3 separate regions of the Homo sapiens genome follow, and all the other regions are linked to region 3. The links are contacts of gene promoters, found by promoter capture Hi-C in blood cells and fetal thymus (Javierre and others, 2016). All regions are on one chromosome and are shown on one strand. Each heading gives the region's core, a stretch centred on a gene start or on the middle of the fragment in contact. The rest is flanking DNA. Distances are from core to core; before and after follow the strand shown. Region 1 overlaps UBR5 (ubiquitin protein ligase E3 component n-recognin 5). Region 2 overlaps UBR5 (ubiquitin protein ligase E3 component n-recognin 5). Region 3 holds the start of LINC03047 (long intergenic non-protein coding RNA 3047).

The links. Contacts are between HindIII fragments. The CHiCAGO score rates a contact against its expected background, and 5 or more counts as called.
Region 1: a contact is called between a fragment that was not itself captured here and the fragment with the promoter of LINC03047 in region 3, in 3 of 17 cell types (M1 macrophages, M2 macrophages and M0 macrophages). The highest score is 5.3, in M1 macrophages.
Region 2: a contact is called between a fragment that was not itself captured here and the fragment with the promoter of LINC03047 in region 3, in 1 of 17 cell types (activated CD4 T cells). The highest score is 5.4, in activated CD4 T cells.

The regions. Positions count from the first base shown.
Region 1 is chr8:102,393,606-102,396,351 of GRCh38, forward strand. All of the region lies in intron 1 of UBR5 (ubiquitin protein ligase E3 component n-recognin 5), which reads right to left. Among named protein-coding and RNA genes, the nearest start is that of UBR5, 18 kb to the right of the region's middle. RefSeq lists an enhancer at 1,442-1,521. The HindIII fragment of the contact is 518 bases long and covers 1,059-1,576 here.
Region 2 is chr8:102,305,375-102,308,129 of GRCh38, forward strand. The region is part of intron 20 of UBR5 (ubiquitin protein ligase E3 component n-recognin 5); the gene reads right to left. Among named protein-coding and RNA genes, the nearest start is that of UBR5-DT, 67 kb to the left of the region's middle. The HindIII fragment of the contact is 1,225 bases long and covers 864-2,088 here.
Region 3 is chr8:102,527,507-102,530,287 of GRCh38, forward strand. LINC03047 (long intergenic non-protein coding RNA 3047) reads left to right here and starts at 1,315. Exons shown (of 2, transcript XR_001745731.2): 1 at 1,315-1,349; 2 at 1,805-2,345. RefSeq lists enhancers at 1,092-1,311, 1,492-1,541, 1,612-1,661. The HindIII fragment of the contact is 12,429 bases long and covers 1-2,781 here.

The sequences.
Region 1 (2,746 bases), core at 68-2,567, 130 kb before region 3:
AGTCAGGGGGACAGAGCAAAGTTTCTTTTAAGAAGTTTCTAGAGCCAGGCATGGTGGCTCATGCCTGTAATCCCAGCACTTTGAGAGGCTGAGGAAGGCGGATCACTTGAGGCCAGGAGTTCGAGACCAGCCTGGCCAGCATGGTGAAACTCCATCTCTACTAAAAACACAAAAATTAGCCGAGCATGGTGGCACACGCCTGGAGTCCCAGCTGCTCTGGAGGCTGAGGCACAAGAATTGCTTGAACCAGGGAGACGGTGGTTGCAGTGAGCCAAGATCCTGCCACTGCACTCCAGCCTGGGCAACAGAGCAAGACTCTGTCTTAAAAAATAACAATAAAAAGTTTCTAGAGGAAAAAATATTTTAGGTGAAACTAAATTACTATTCTTTATTCAATGATTTTCACGTTCTTATTTTAGGTGAATAGTTAAATAAGCTAAAACACTTTCCTAGAAATTTATTCTTTTTCTTTTTCTTGAGACGGACTCTCGCCCTCGCCCAGGCTGGAGTGCAGTGGCACAGTCGGCTCACTGCAACCTCTGCCTCCCGGGTTCAAGCCATTCTCCTGCCTCAGCTTCCTGAGTAGCTGGGATTACATTCGCACACCACCACGCCCAGCTAATTTTTGTATTTTTAGTAGAGACAGGGTTTCACCATTTTGGTCAGGCTGGTCTCTTAACTCCTGACCTCATCATCTGTCCGCCTTGGCCTCCCAAAGTGCTGGGGTTACAGGCGCGAGCCACCGCATCCGGCCAGAATTTATTCTTTTTCTATTATTAAAATAATATATACTCATATACAGAAGTATATAAAATACAAAATCATATCAAGAAATATCAAAAGTAATCAACCATAACCCAGAGGCAAGTATACCGTCATTTTGTTTTAGCACTTATGAAACTTTAGTCTTTACCACAGTTAATATCATAGACTTTTTCACCTCTTAGATAGAAAAACACATTGTCTTTTATTCAGCTCCGTGATTCTACTGGTTTCTCCAAAAGATCTGCAGTTTTTTCCCAATAACAGTGAGGCATTTGAACTGAATCATCCATTCAAGCTTGATCATCCTCATTAACAATGGCAAACACCAACAACTTGGCTGGAGAGAGGTGAAGTACATTCTTTGTAGCCACAAAATCAAGCAACTTGCCTACATGGAAAATGGAATTCACACTCCTTAGTGCATTGGTTCCATTACTCTAAGCCTAACCAACTACATTAACCAGTTATGGCCAATTTATGGCCTAGCACATCTTATTTACTTGATCATGATATGACCAAAGTCATTATTGAAGATAATTAACAAGGTATCCTTTTCTACAAGAACATTATTCAACTGATTTGAAACTCTATGTATTCATCAGTCTAAGCATTCTGGGCTTCTTTTAGTTCCTCAAATACACAGCAGTCTCTCACGGTCTCCACATGTGCTGTTCCTTCTGCCTAGGGAGCTCTTCCAGTTCTTAACACCTTGTCCTACGTCCTACATCCTACAGCTCTCCCACCAGCCTCTCTCAGCCTACCTCCTTTTCATTCACAATCCCTATTCTCATTTTCAACACTTCTTCAGGTAAGCTTTTCCCCTGCCCAAGACTGAACTGGTGCTTCTAGTGAAGAATCCTGAACTTTCCCTTTTCACTGTACTTGTCACACTGTCCTGTAACTGTCTCTTTTTCATGAACCAAACACCACCACCAGACACCCAAGACTAGAACTGACAGGCAGCAGACGCCCCCAAATCTTGCTGAATAAACACTCTTTTAATGATTTCACATATATCTATTTATATATATACACACACACACACGTACCTGTTTACATATACACAAACACAGTGTATTCATATTTATAATTACATATATACACAAACATACATACACACAAACAGTGTGTGTTCACATTAATATATAATTACATACACACACACATAGAAAAACAAGTAACTTCCTCTACCCTTTTCAAAGGAAAAGCAATAAGGCTAAGTTAATGTAGGGTGGAGTCTTTGCCACTTAACTAATCTAAGCACTCCGGCCCTCAGTTTCCTCAGCTATAAAATAAAATCCTAAAATCGTCCTTGGTGTAAAGTTTTGATGAAACATCTCAAAACATTCTATTCAGCAGTGTCAAGTCACAAGGTAATATCTATTACAGTCTAATACACAGAACAATGGGTTTCCTGGAAAACAGAAGTTAAAAAGTTTCTCATTGAGCATGTGGCAGTACTAGGACCTAATAAACAGCATTTCCAAAAAACAAGAGCAACACTCTTAATCCATTAGAAATCAAAGGTAAACAAACATTTTCAAACTCAGAAGGTGATATGCCATCATCAATGTGCTTTTGCTTTATCATATACTTGATAAAGCTGCACTCCTGCCTGAGTGACAGAGTGAGACTCCATGTCAAAAATAAAATCAAATAAAGGGGGAAGGGGTGGGGGAGCAATACAGAAGACCTGGGCATGTTTTTTAAGAGCTCCTCTTCAGTTAAACTAACCAGACGGCAAGAGCTTAGAAAGCTCTATTTTCTGCCCACTACTCCTAAATACCTATTAGAGTAAGTACAAAAAAAGCAGAAGAGCAGGTCTGAGGCAGGAAATAAGAATCAAACCTTAAAATGGCAGAACTGGCCAACATATATCAAATGTAACTCATAAAACAGTATCTATAGCTCTACAGTCACACAGATTCAAGGCTGAAATGAACTTTCAGACATTAAATACACCTCCTCATCTTACAAATGA
Region 2 (2,755 bases), core at 226-2,725, 220 kb before region 3:
CAACACAATAATATATAATCAGATTTGCAAATCAGTAGAGACAATTTCAGGTGGCCTACCAAAAGAAACAGAACTTAAGGGTACACTTTAAGCAGAACATACAATCGACAGGAATAGAGAAGGGAGGGTAAACTTTCTGTTAAGGACAAGTAAATATTTTTAGCTTTCTCAACTAACTCAGCTCTGCAACTGAAACAGGAAAGCAGCCACATACAATGCATAAATGAATAGGAGTGGCTGGATTCGGCCTTTGGGCCATAGTCTGCCAATCCTTGGTTTTTACTTCATGTTATCTATCTAATTAGAACCCTTTTAATAATGATAGCCAATTAAGCAAAGGATATAAATTTTATTCCAGGCTTACTCCCACCTTCTTAGGCTTTTGTGTGTGTGTGAGACAGTGTCTCACTCTGTCTTCCAGGCTGTAGTGCGGTGATGTGAACACAGCTCACTATGGCATCAACCTCCTGGGCTCAAGTAATCCTCCCGCCTCAGCCTCCCATGTAGCTAGCATGCACCACCACAGCAGGCTGATTTTTTGTAGAGGCAGTCTTGCCATGTTGCCCAGGCTGGTCTCAAACTCCTGGGCTCAAGTGATGCCCCCACCTCAGCCTCCCAAAGTGCTGGGCATGAGCAACCCACACCCAGCCCTCTTATGCTATTAAAGGTTATATGAAAACCGATACCTTCAATTCTGCAGGGATCATGACAGGTGTAATTTAATTAACAAAGACACAGTGGTACTGATAAGTATTTATAGAACATATCATTAGCTTTCTGACAAATAGCATGAATATACCAAGAAGTTCATTCTTTCACATTGGAAAACTGTAGTTGTGGAATATTTAATGAATCGAATATAAAGCTTTAGTTTTATAAAACAAAGTTGTTCATTTTAACTATAACTAGAAAAAAGCAGGTGGGAAAAGAGCATGTGGGAGTATAAAGGAAAAAAAAAAACTGCATTTGAACAACTTGCCACCTTCTGGAAAACTGTCAAAATAAGCTCTCCCCTATCCCCAACTTGAGAGCGGGTGGAGAACAGATGTCCACACAAGAAAACACACCTAAACAACTATTTTCACTATCCACTACACGTGAGACAGGCCACTTTGATTGTGGAACTAACTATGGCTCTGAAGTCACCTCATCAACAGCAAGCTCCAGTTCATGAGGAGCTTAATACTAAACTTTCCAAAACATAGGGAAATTTATACAAAATATGTGTTGAGAGAAAATGTCAAAGTCTCCCTGAAGAACAAAGAACAGAGTACTTTCAAAGGGCAACTAAAATCAAGATATTCTGTTGTACGGTGCTGTCATATACACTGGTTTCAAGTAACAGCAAATTATTTAGTTAGAAGCAGCTACTACTCTACAGGAAACTCTTATCTCCAACCTGCCAGACTATAGTAGATGGGCTCTCACACTGAGAGTATCAATACTACTTAGTTGTGTTACAAGCAGAAAAGTTTACTCTGCATCATTGTATGTTACATCTGTCAGTTATTCTTATAGCAAAAGGCAGAGTGAGTTCAATAAAAAATTTCTTGTGGGTCTACTGTGTGGTAGGCCCTAGTCACTGAGGTAGGTATAAAGACTAATCATGACACACTTCATCCCTACCTGCGGGATGATGACTCTACCTGTCAGATCCTGACAAAGTGAAGAGGTCACAGAATCAAATGCCTACACTTGAAGTAATATAAATGAATGAAGGAGGCTGTGTGTAAAAGAGATAACAGAAGCTGTATACTAAATGGCATCACTAGCACTTGGAGCAACAAACTCTAAGTAGTGAGAACTGCAATGAATTGTAAAGACCAGTCTAATGTTTTTGGGATGTAGATTACGAGGCCCAATTTCACCAGATCTTCTAAAATTAAAATCTGGATTTTAAATGTAAATCCTGTGATTTTTCAATATTGGTAACCCATCAAGAATTCTAAAATGATATGAAGGCTATTTCTAGACATCAAGTTCAGACCACAGCTACCTCTGTATCATCACCTCCTTTAGTTTGAAACCACTAGTGCAGTAGGTTACAAGCAAAGCTAAGCTAAGAATGAGTCTGGGTGTCTAAATAAAAGCTTACAGATAGTGCTCATAAGCACCTGGATTCAGTCTATTTTAGATGCAGTTCTAAAAAGTACTTCTCACCTCCAATCTAATGGAGGGTGAATATGCTCCCATATTAAACTCCATTTCCATCCTTTATAGAAAAACTGCTCAAAAAAGTTGCTGATATTTATCTTCAGTTCCTCACCTCTCATTTTCTCCTAAGTTCACTCTAATGCTTTCATCCCCACTATCAATAATGACCTAGATGGAGCTAAATCCAACAGTCAATATTCAGTATTCACTTCACTGACCTACCACATCACTTGACACAGTTGGTCCCAACATCCTGCTTGACATGTGCTCTTCATTTGACTTCCAGGACACAACTCATTCTAGCTTTCCTCCAACCCTGTGGATGTTCCTTCTCGATCTCTTATGCTCGTTCCTCTTTATCACCCTAACATTTAAATGTTGAGACTATTCTCAGGACTTAGTCCTTGGACCTTTTCTCCTCACCACCTCCATGATCTTGTTCAATATAATTCCTCTAAATAAACAACTCCCAAGTAAATTTCTCCAGCTTGAGCCTTTCTCTCTTAGTCAGACTTACACATCTAACTTTCTACTTGCCATCTCCTCTTGGTCCAGGAATCTGTCAGATAATCTTCTAATAGACAACTTAAATTTCACCTGT
Region 3 (2,781 bases), core at 65-2,564:
ATTGCCTTTAGCTGCTCCTGCATGTTTATGGGAGGGATGGTGAAACCGCCTTTGTAAAATCATGACTGAGACAGTGAAAGAGATCTAACTTAACTGACTCCATCTTGCCTCTAACCCCCAAGCTGTCCTTGTTCATTCCTGGGCATAGGCTGAACTAACTTTGGGAGAGACTTAGTTTTTCTAATTTAAACAAAGACGGTAACAGCCCTTTCCCAAAGCAGACCGCCTTCTTGCCTGGGGAGTAGATTGCCTTTGTAGGACTAACATTACCCACAAGATTAAAAATTATGGTTTAGGAGTCATGCAGCTGGAAGTCTACAAGATTCTGACCCTCCTTAAACTGGTCCTAAGATCAGTGCTGGAGATATTTTGCAGACCCTGCACTTGATAGATCAGCTGGCACCACCCAGATCAATAAACTGGTTCATCGGATCTTGTGCCCCTGGACCCCCCGGAACTGATTCAGCACAAGACAACAGTTTCGACTTCCTATGATTTCATCCCTGACCAATCAGCACTCCTGGCTCACTGGCTTCCCCCCACTCACCAAGTTATCCTTAAAAACTCGACTCCCCGAATGCTTGGCGAGACTGATTTGAGTAATAAAAAAAACTCCGGTCTCCTGCACAGCCGGCTCTGCGTAAATTACTCTTTCTCTATTGCAATTCCCCTGTCTTGATGAATCGGCTCAGTCTAGGCAGCAGGCAAGGTGAACCCCTTGGGCAGTTACGGTGGCTGAGGACATAATTCGTATTTGTGGAGAAAAACATAACATCGAATATTATTTACTATGTGCCAAACACTAAGCACTTCATACATATTAACTCTAAGAAACTTTTGTCTACTGCCTGCCAAGTTCAAAGATATTCTTCTATATTTAACTCATTTAATTCTCAGCAACCCTACTAAATATTAGTCCCACCCCATTCTGTAGATAAATAAACTAAGGCAGGGGAAGAACTGTGCCCCAAACCGCACAGCTGGTAAGTGGCGGAACCAGGACTTCCTCCAGAATCTGCTCCAGAAGCCTGCGCTGTGCTGTGCACTCCGTGCGCTGTGTGCTCCGTGCGCTGTGTGGTCCGTGCTCGCTGTGTGCTGTGCACGCGGTGCGCTCTGTGCTGTGTTGCATGCTCTGTGCTGTGTGCGCTGTGCTGTGTGCGCTGTGCTGTGTGCTCTGTGCTGTGCTCCGTGCGCTGTGTGCTGCGCGTGTGTGCTCTGTGCTGTGCTCCGTGCGCTGTGTGCTTTGTTGTGCGCTGTGTTCTACGTGCTCTGTGCTGTGCGCTGTGCTGTGTGCTGAGCTGTGCTGGCATCGTTCTCACTCCTCCTGGTGGCTGTGGGAGGATGGACTGGTAAGGCTTTCTCTTTGTTATCTTCTGTCCCAGACCGGATGTCTGTCACAGTCATCAAGGGGTCTTGTCTGTAATGCCAGGAGGTGTAGCACGAGATGGGAAGGTGGGGGACACACTGAAGCGAGGAAATCCTAGAGGGAGGGCCAGCCTGGAGGGGCGCAAATACCGTCGCCCCCAGGCCCCGCCCCACCCCGGCAGCCAGAGCCCTGCAAGCAGTGGGGGCTTTCTACATAAGAGGCATCCACGCTGTGCTGCTCTGAACATTGAGAGAATGTTAGGCTGGGCGTGGTACAGGCTATGCCTGTAATCCCAGCACTTTGGGAGGCCGAGGTGGGAGGATTGCTTGAGCCCAGGAGTTCAAGACGAGCCTGGGCAACAGAGCCAGATCCGATCTCTAAAAAGAAAAAAAAAAGAAGAAAGAAAACATCTGCCACATGCTCATTTTCCTTGCGAAGGTGGTTTTGGAGGAATCCAGAGAAATGGCTGAATCCCACCTCTGAGCTGGAGCAGAGAAGGGAAAAAAGAAGTCTGGTTGGTCTGAGAATGAACCCCACAGTCCAGAGGCAGCAGTGAGCTCCTGGGAATCTGGATAAACTTGAGGAGGACACTGTTCATTGTACTTTACGCCAACGTGGACTGGAGGATACAACCCGTTTTATTTCAGTCCCAGAGTGACCTCGGATGACACGTGGGAGAGCGCTGTACATTCATGCATATATATACATGTATGTGATTTGTAACATGTATATTATGTGGTTTATATAACAGATGCATGACATAAACATGTACCGGTAGAGACGTAGAGAATTCTTTATAAAAAGTGACATAATATAATGAATCAATAAATCTATATATATAGTATACATTGTATATTATGTAAATGTAACATGGCATATTATAAAACATCTATAAAACAAACATAACACATATACTGTTTTATATATGATATGTAAGCACATATTTATATACTCTTTATTAAAATGTAACATTATATGATTTAATGTTTTTCCCTTTAAATTTTTTTAACAAAATGGGACATTATTATATACACAATTTTGCGTGTTTTTAATTTAGGAATATACTGTGTATGCTTTATCTTTTCAGTAATATTCTTTAAGAAGATGATTGTTAATATATTTTTATATTCTTCTGTTTGTTTTTGAGGCGGGGGTCTTACCATGTTGTTCAGACTAGCCTTGAACTCCTGGGTTCAAGTGATCCTCCTTCCTCAGCCTCCCAAGTAGTTAGGATTACAGGCACACACCACTGCACCCATCTATATTTTTATATTCTATATGCAGGTACCATAATTTGCTTAATCAGTCTCTTATTTTGGTTATTTGTTTCTGTTTTGAGTTTTTGCTATTATAGGTAATGCTGCTAATGAACTTTCTTATAAATAGAACTTAGATTCTGATTTCGTACATCTTGC